Regions from separate parts of the Homo sapiens genome. Here region 2 is linked to region 1. Evidence: promoter capture Hi-C in human tissues and cell types (Jung and others, 2019). All regions are on one chromosome and are shown on one strand. Each heading gives the region's core, a stretch centred on a gene start or on the middle of the fragment in contact. The rest is flanking DNA. Distances are from core to core; before and after follow the strand shown.

Evidence for each region. Contacts are between HindIII fragments. The study calls those that stand out against the background at their distance.
Region 2: a contact is called between a fragment that was not itself captured here and the fragment with the promoter of CACNA2D1 in region 1, in 2 of the 25 tissues and cell types used here (IMR-90 fibroblasts and neural progenitor cells).

What each region holds. Positions count from the first base shown.
Region 1 is chr7:82,441,818-82,446,115 of GRCh38, reverse strand. CACNA2D1 (calcium voltage-gated channel auxiliary subunit alpha2delta 1) reads left to right here and starts at 2,339. Exons shown (of 39, transcript NM_000722.4): 1 at 2,339-2,751. The coding sequence starts at 2,657. RefSeq lists an enhancer at 3,334-3,897. The HindIII fragment of the contact is 9,545 bases long and covers 1-4,298 here.
Region 2 is chr7:82,382,818-82,387,115 of GRCh38, reverse strand. All of the region lies in intron 1 of CACNA2D1 (calcium voltage-gated channel auxiliary subunit alpha2delta 1), which reads left to right. Among named protein-coding and RNA genes, the nearest start is that of CACNA2D1, 59 kb to the left of the region's middle. The HindIII fragment of the contact is 5,768 bases long and covers 1-4,298 here.

The DNA.
Region 1 (4,298 bases), core at 1,090-3,589:
AAAAAAAAACCACATTTTGAATATCCTCAATAAGAAGGTTTAGATTGGTAAAAAGCAATTAATAGCAAACCTCGCAACAGAGTATTAAACAATGATTTAGGCTCACAGATGATAACCAACCCTTTCAGTAAGAATTGTAGAAGCAATATCTTTCCTCAACAGCTTCACATATTGGAGAACTCAGTGCTTCAACAGAGTGATCCAAAGAAATTGAGATTTGGCTCAAAGGCCAACAAAGTTAATAATAAAGGCTGACTTACCTTCTCTACAAGCTTATTACATTCTTTTATTCTTTAAGCCCTTTCTCCTAAAGATATAAAATTGGAAACAGTGTACCATAGTGGGAAGTCTGGAGTTGATGTTGAAATAATTGACAGAATATATAACAATGGTATTTTTAGGTAGTGAGGCTATTGATACCAACATATCACATAGACAATAATGGGCATCTCTAATTCTGCTCTTCTTAGTCCTCATGCTGGGGAAGAAAGTCTGCTTTTGAATTATTAAAAATGGAAGAAATGATGGATTTGACTATTTACTTATCTAATTTTGGAGTGGAATGCTATCTTCAGTTATATAAAATATCCCTCCTGAGCTGTAGTTCTCAATCCCATTACATCCCACTTCATCCCTCATTTGCGCAGCTCCTGCTGCCACAGTATCCATGCCTAGCATAAAACAAACTAAGTTAAGTCACGGTGGGGTGCCTTTTGTGAGGCCACTCAGAGTAGAAAGAAACAAAGAGCAAGACAGAGATGCGAAGAACATAAAGAAAACAAATAAGGCATTAAAAAAAGGAGAAATAAGTGGGAAGGAAAAATAAATTCACCAGGCTAAGCATCATAAAATCACACACGCTCTTAAAATTTGGCCAGTAATTAATAGTAGTAGTATTATTATTAGTCTTTGTTTTGGGAGATTGCCTTCAGAGAGCTGGAAAATTCATTTCGAATTAATAAGGGTCTTTTTCTTTCAGAAGCATCTCCTAAAAATAAGAACGGGCTAATTAAAAATCTGACAGCCACCCCGATACTTACAGAATTTTTGCATATGCAGGATAGTCATCACAAATTGTATTCTCTGCACGTCATGTCAAAAGTATTCTCATACACTACTAGAGGGAGCTTAAGAATTTAAGGTGTGCAAGAATATATTTCTATCTTTGGCCCACCAGGGCCCTCTTGTAGGAGGCCTGTGTTGGGCGGGAGAGGCCTAGTCGCAGACCCTGTCTTTTCAAGGAGAAAGCCCGCCACTGCTTCCTCTGAGTCTGGAGATAAAACCAGTCCGGCATTGCTACTCCCTAGCTCTCTCCCCCTCCCTTAATTCCTCCTCTACATTTCAGGCGCATTTCTCAGAGTGCCACCTGTTCCTGCTGCTTACCCTTTTCATGCCTTCGCATTGACAAAAGTGAGCTCACCCTGCGGTAACCTTGTCAGGCAGGGCAGGCCAGTGGCCAGAGCAGGGCGTTAGGACCCTTTTGGAGGTAGTCCCAACTGGGATGCTGCAAAGCGCTTCTCTTACTACTGTCCTCCCTAGATGCAGAATTCGTCCCTCCACCCCTCTGTCCAATGGAACCACAGGGCTGGGAAGATTTTACAGCGTCAGTACTTCTCTGTCCGTCCACAGCCCGGTCCCTGAGGCTCTGTCCTCGCCAGGTGAGCCGAGCAGTACCTGGGCGTGGGACCGCTGGCACAAAGGGCACCCAGCCCCGGCAGAGGCTCTAACCTATGGCACACGCGGGCATATAGTGCCACCTGGTAGAGAGTCAACAGTGGTGCTTTAAAATGCAATACAAACCCCTCCTACATTTGTTGTCAAATCACTTCACGATTCCCAGGCAGGCACTGGATTCTGCGCCTGGGAGTAGGGCTGGGGGGGAACGCTGCCTGCATGTGCAAAAATAACCCCCGAAGACGCGAGCCAAGTCCTGGGTTGGAGCCTCTGCAGCCTGTGGATGCCCGCTGGGCGGCTGGCCGTCCCCCGGGAGCCCCGCGGGGCTGGTCCGCTCCGCCTGCGCACGCCGGGCGGCGGGAGCGAGCCGGCGCCGACTTTGGGAGTTCCTGGCTGCCTTGTATGGAGGGCTGCTCCCGGCCCGTCTCCGCCCGACTGCTCTGACGCCCAGCCCTCCCGCTGCCCACCCCCAGCCGCCTCCCTCTGACTTGCCTAAGAAGCCAGACGGAGCCTCTCGCTTCCACAAGTCTCTCTGCCTGCCATTCCCCGATTCCTGCAGCCACCCCCACCCTCCAGCGCCGTCACCCCTCCTCCGCCCCCGCCCCCGCCTCCGCCTTCGCCTCGGCAATCGGGGGAATAAATCAGGGAGGAAACCGAGAGGGAGAGCGAGAGCGCGCGAGCGCCGGCGGGCTCGCCGAGGTCTGTTTCCAAAGTCGCCCTTGATGGCGGCGGAGGCAAGGCGGCCGCGGCGCGGAGCAGCCGACGCACGCTAGTGGGTCCGCCCGCCACCGCCCCTTCCTCGGCGTCCGCTCCCGCCCTTGCCGTCCCCCGCGCGGCTCCGCGCCTCGGGCCCCGGGCGCAGCCAGCCCTCCAGACGCCCGCGGTCCCGGCGGCGTGTGCTGCTCTTCCTCCGCCCGCGGTTTCCAGCGCCGCTCCTTCCCCCGCTTGGGCAGGGAGGGGGCATTGATCTTCGATCGCGAAGATGGCTGCTGGCTGCCTGCTGGCCTTGACTCTGACACTTTTCCAATCTTTGCTCATCGGCCCCTCGTCGGAGGAGCCGTTCCCTTCGGCCGTCACGTAAGTCGGCGGGCCGGGCAGGGAGCGCCGGCCGAGGGGCGCCGCGGGAGTTGGGGGTGGGGGTCGGTTCCCGAGTCGCGGGGCTTTTCCGCCCGTGGGGGTGGGGAGCGAGCGGCCGGGGAGCCAGGCTCGGATGCGGAGACGCCGGGCAGGCGGTGCGCGCCGCTCGCCGCTGGAATGCGTCCCGAACCGGCGTCTCGGGCGCCTCCACGGGGCCGGGCACTGGGGGCCGACTGTCCCGGGAAGCGCCCGCCGACGACTCGCGGCGTCTCAGCCCGTCTCTAACGGGATTCTCTAGACTTCAGAGTGCAGCCGTACTGGGGAAAAAAGTTTCCAGCCAGCTCACCCGCTCTGATTCAACCCAGTTCAATAAAAAGTTATGTTTTGGTTGGGTAATTTACAAACAGGTAATTTCAGGCTTGCCGAGGTAGCGTGGACTTCCCCCGCACTTGGCCTCGGAGATGCTCTTTAATTGCTGTAGTGCCCAAACTCGTTTTATCCCACGTTACTGGATGCACTTGACAGCCTTCCGATTAGACGCGTGCTGGCTCCCCGCGGCCGAGCGTGCTGTCCACGCAGGGGGCTCGCAGGTACTGGGACCACGCGATCCAACCTCCCCAACCCATTATTTGAAACATCTAAGTGTCGGCAGACACGCGGTCCCTGTTCTTCAAATGAATAGAGCCTATTCTTTGAAGGAGGGACTATTTCCAGTCTCCTACAAATTTTCTTTTATTTTTACCATTTCTAAAATAACTTTTAAAAACCTCGCTGCTGTTCTGGAAATAGAGGGCTTATAGGTAGCTATAGTCACACCACAGGAAGGGAATGAAAAATAATAATTCTCTCCTTTCTTAGCAAAATAGAATCAAACTCAATGGCACATATAAATATATACATATTTTTTAATGCACCGAATAGCCTATCCGGCATTCTGGGAAAGCATTTATTTTGGTTCTTGGAGCTTCTTTAAAGCTTCTAAAGGTAGGTAATCTTAAGTGGATGAGTCACTTTAATGCATTTTACATAACAAAAACAAAGCCCAAGGTAGCTTTCCCGGTATTTATGCTGCTGGGAATTACTTGCTGTCCTTTGTTGGCTGAGTGCTGAATACAGGAGTTTTTGGTGGAAAGTAACAGTGAATCTTTAGCGGTTGAAATCCTGCGGCTATTATTTAAGATTCAGTTTTAAGTATTTATTACCTTAGGTGTCAGTGCAAGAATCTGGAGGATGCACATTCTATCCCGGAGAAGGGGAGTGTCTAATTTTTGTTGTCATTGAGTTACAGTAATGTTCCTCTTTAGATAATCTTCCATAAAACTGATTGCAGATCCTTTTTGTTATGAAGCAAAAGGGTAAATGCCATCTGGAGATCTTCGTTTAATTGGCAGGATGTTCCAGTCAGATATTTTTAAACATAAAAAGAGTAAGAATCACCCTAAGGATGCTTCAGAATTATTTACTCTTATTAAGGCATCACACTTCCATTTAATTTTTTAAGTCTGTTTGTTGCTTGGCCTGTAAAGTGAGAACTCAAATGAGTCGCT
Region 2 (4,298 bases), core at 1,007-3,506, 59 kb after region 1:
ATTTGAAATGACCTAATTGTTCTCAAAGAACTGTCTTAAGTATAATAATTAATAATTAAACAGTCAACAACTCTTTAACCATGTTATAGATAATATATTTCATTTGCCACCACTTTATACTATATACATTAAGAATGTGTGTAGAGGGTGCTAATCTTGTTGCTTAGATGTAATTATATTTACTTGATTGTTAAAAGCTAAATTATTATAGTATATTTTTACAATAAAAAGGAATTTGATACTTTTGCATATAGAGTCTTTAAATGGATGTAGGGCAGTATTTTATTTCACTATTTATATTTGCACTGTGTGTTTTTGCTAAGTATTAGTTATTTTATTTATTTATTTATTTATTTATTTATTTATTTATTTATTTATTTTTGAGACAGAGTTTTGCTCTTATTGCCCAGGCTGGAGTGCAATGGCTCAATCTCGGCTCACCACAACCTCCGCCTCTCGAGTTCAAGTGATTCTCCTGCCTCAGCCTTGCGAGTAGCTGGGACTGCAGGCATGCGCCATCACGCCTGGCTAATTTTTGTATTTTTAGTAGAGACGGGGTTTCTCCATGTTGGTCAGGCTGGTCTCGAACTCCCGACCTCTGGTGATCTCCCAAAGTGCTGGGATTAAAGGCATGAGCCACAGTGCTTGGCCAGTGTTAGTTCTTAATAGGCACTTCTTTGGCTCTAGAAGGCTATGATAAGTATATTAAAATGTAATTTTGAAACAAAAACTAATTTTTCCCCTCAATCTCATGTGCAAATGTATTCCAAAGTATATTTTGACCTTTGTAATGATGTTTGGTTGTATTTTATGTAAAAGTGTCCATAGGAGAATGCAGCTCAAAGTAAGAGTTGAGAATCTGCCTGATTAAAAGGGAAGAATATGCAGTACTATAGTATTTTTTTCCCCTTGCTGAATGCAGTTATTGCAGTGGGTATTGTCATTTCAACAGGCAGAATTGCTGCTTACTTAATGGTAGCTGGTGGTCTCCAGGGCACTTTGCGGATTCCAAGAATGCATAGTCATTCCAAGAACCAAAAATATTTTGAAATTACCTGAAAAAAATTCTAGTTCAGTCATTTCTAATGCGTTTACAACTCTAAACCTAAATATTAATGCTAGAATGTAGCTCATATTATATAATAAAAATAGACTGGGCATGGTGGTTCACGCCTGTAATCCTATCAATTTGGGAGGCCGAGGCAGGTGGATCACTTGAGGTCAGGAGTTGGAGACCAGCCTGGCCAACATGGTGAAACCCCGTCTCTACTAAAAATACAAAAATTAGTTGGGCATGGTGGCAGGTTCCTGTAATCCCAGTTATTCGGGAGGCTGAGGCAGGAGAGTTGTTTGAACCTGGGAGATGGATGTCGCAGTGAGCCGAGATTGCACCACTATACTCCAGCCTGGGCGACAGAGAGAGATTCTGTCTCAAAAAAACAAAACAAAACAAAACAAAACAAAACAACCAAAAAACCCCTTAAATATAATGTCTGAAACTGTACTAGTGTAAGTGGTATCTGGCTGTAGTGTTCCAAAAATACATTTGCAAAAATGTTTTGGAAAACAGACAATATGTTAGCATTAAAACAACAGGTTCCCACACCAGTTTGTAGAGCTAATTTAACCCATATTGTACCACATAGGGTTACAATGGACTATTTCAACTATATTTTATCACCAGACTTTTGTGTTCATTTATCGTCATGAGCATCAGTGGAAGACATTTGTAAGCATCAGGGAAAGAGGATGGAGGTGGAGATGTGGGAGAAAAAGTATGTATGAGAAAGTCTTTTTCTCTAAATAACTAATAATTCCTTCTGTAGTAAGTTATGATCCATTTCAATTTGACATTCTGAACTTTCTTATTCCAGCAGTGGGAGTGAAGATTCCGGCCTCTTTGGATGGCCAGTAGCAGGGACAGAAAGGGACAGACGAGCACAGCATAAGCTGAGCAACATACAATCGTGCTCCTCCAGTAGCTTGCAATCCAGAGGGAAGGCTGGAGTTTAGGTTCATTGTCTTGTGCAGTGGTGAAGTTTCATAAAAGATGTTGGGACAAGGAAGGGGAGGGAGTCATTAATGCCTACAGAGGAGAAAGCTTTTATATTAGGCCTGTGTTTCAGTAGGGGCTAAAGTGTGCAAGAGCATTGCAATACATTAATGTGATTTATGCTCCATTTATGTGCATTAATTGATTCTTACATCATGCCCCAAAGTTTTCTCTTGTGTCTTGCATCAACATTCAGTAAAAAAGAACTCCATCTCTGCTGTTTTTGGCAGTGAGATATATTTTTTGTTGATTTCTGTCCTAACGTCTACTGATCTCAAATTACATGAAAAGTGCCATTTTTGTCATTTATATACAAGACAAACAAGCTTTACATTTCTTTTATCCTTAGCATTTAACAAAATGTTTATTTCACATTATAAAACAAGTTCTTTCCAGACAAAAGTTTTTTCTTTTTTCCTCCCTCTTCTTCACTTCACTTTTCCTCCCTCTTCTTCTTCTTCACTTCTCCTTTACCAGTGATTTTTTTTTTAATTTCAAAATATTTTACAACTCTGCTGAGGCTGCTATAAGAAAAACCATAGACTGGGTGGCTTAAATGAAAGACATTTATTTTTCACAGTTCTGGAGGCTGGAAGTCCAAGAATAAGGTGCCGACTCATTCAAGTTTTGGTGAGAGCTCTCTTTGTGGCTTGCATGTAACTACCTGCATGCTGTGTCTTCACATGCTGGAGAAAGAACAGTCTTTCTCTCTCTCTTCTTATAAAGCTGCTAAATGCATTATGAGGGCCTCATACTCATGATCTCATCTAACCCTAATTGCCTTGCAAAGGCCCCTTCTCCAAATACGGACACACTGGAGTTTAGGGTTTCAACATACACATTTTTTGGGGGAGACAATTCAGTCTACAGCATTCAAACCAAAACCAAAATACCCCTGGTGACGTCTTCAATTGTCACCTTAATTCTCTTGGTTTTAGTCAGATGAAATGTGATAAATGAGAGGTTTCAGTATATACTATAACCGAAAAGGAGGTAGTTTTTCTGTATCTCTCACAATTTCTTATTTTCAACAGCCTCTTGACTTTACATGGTGGAAATGTACCTCATATAGACTCACATATTTTTGCAGCAGCTGCTTTGGCTTGTTTGTTCTAAATAATTATTTGTTTTTTTCAAATGTGTAAAATTTTGATAATCTACATGTGTCAGTGTGAAGAGGTACTTTATAAATGTTTGCTACTGTCAGTATTGGAAATCTTAATTTATATGGAAAGAACTTTGAACAAAATAGTCACCTAGCATGTGTATATTAGTAAATAAACATTGGTATCAAATATACTTAACTCATAATAGGAGAATGTAGGCAAAGTGATAAAAGTTCCTGTGGAGGTGGGTGCCTGGCACAGCTCAGGTGATAAACCAAAAGCATTAAAAATACTGGGCTTGTTCCTACTCTGAGAGGATCAGGTAATTCAGCATTTCACGGAACTGTGTACCTTTTTGAGCATATTTGCCACTATTTCATTTTGTATGTATGAAGACCAAGGGTACTGTCCATTTTTATTGGAATTCCTGAGTCTGTTCTATCACCTATTTTAAATAACATCATTCTTCTGTGATTCCCTTTTCCCATGTAACTATTACAAATCTTCTTCCTACTTTCTATGTCTACATTTTTGCTGCTCTATTTCTCTTTAGTGCTTTCTCTCCCCTAGAAGGGCTGAATATGAATAATTGAATGGCAAGCAGTTTTTAGTTCAGAGTGGCAGTGGTACCGCTGGCAGTCTTGCCTACAAGCATCCTTGGGATGGAAAAGTTGAGCCTCAGGGCCAGTTTTTTTCTCTTTTGGAACAGATTAGTGGCCCAAAAATCTCAATAAAAGAAACTGAAGAACAATTTCTGTAAACTTGTCTAGTGCAGACAGATACCTAACATGACTTATGATCTGTTTTTCTTGTTCAAGGCTGTGTTCTAAACGGCAAATGTGTAAATATACCTAGTGGGTTTATTTTAAAATTTCTGCTGACTTTTAGGTTACTAGATAAAATATAAGTGTGAGTCCTTCTTTTACAACTGTGGAGCTGAAGATTTAGAAGAAATCACAATACCATTTCAACAGAAGTATTGAATGGCTGAATGTCAAACCTTAGTGAGAAACTTAGTAAGTGTTCTGTAAATCCCTTGTTACCATGATATATTTCATGCAGAAATGTCTCCAAATACATTTACGTTCTTGTTTGTGGAACAAACAGTAAATGTTTTTGAACACCAGTTATATAATAGA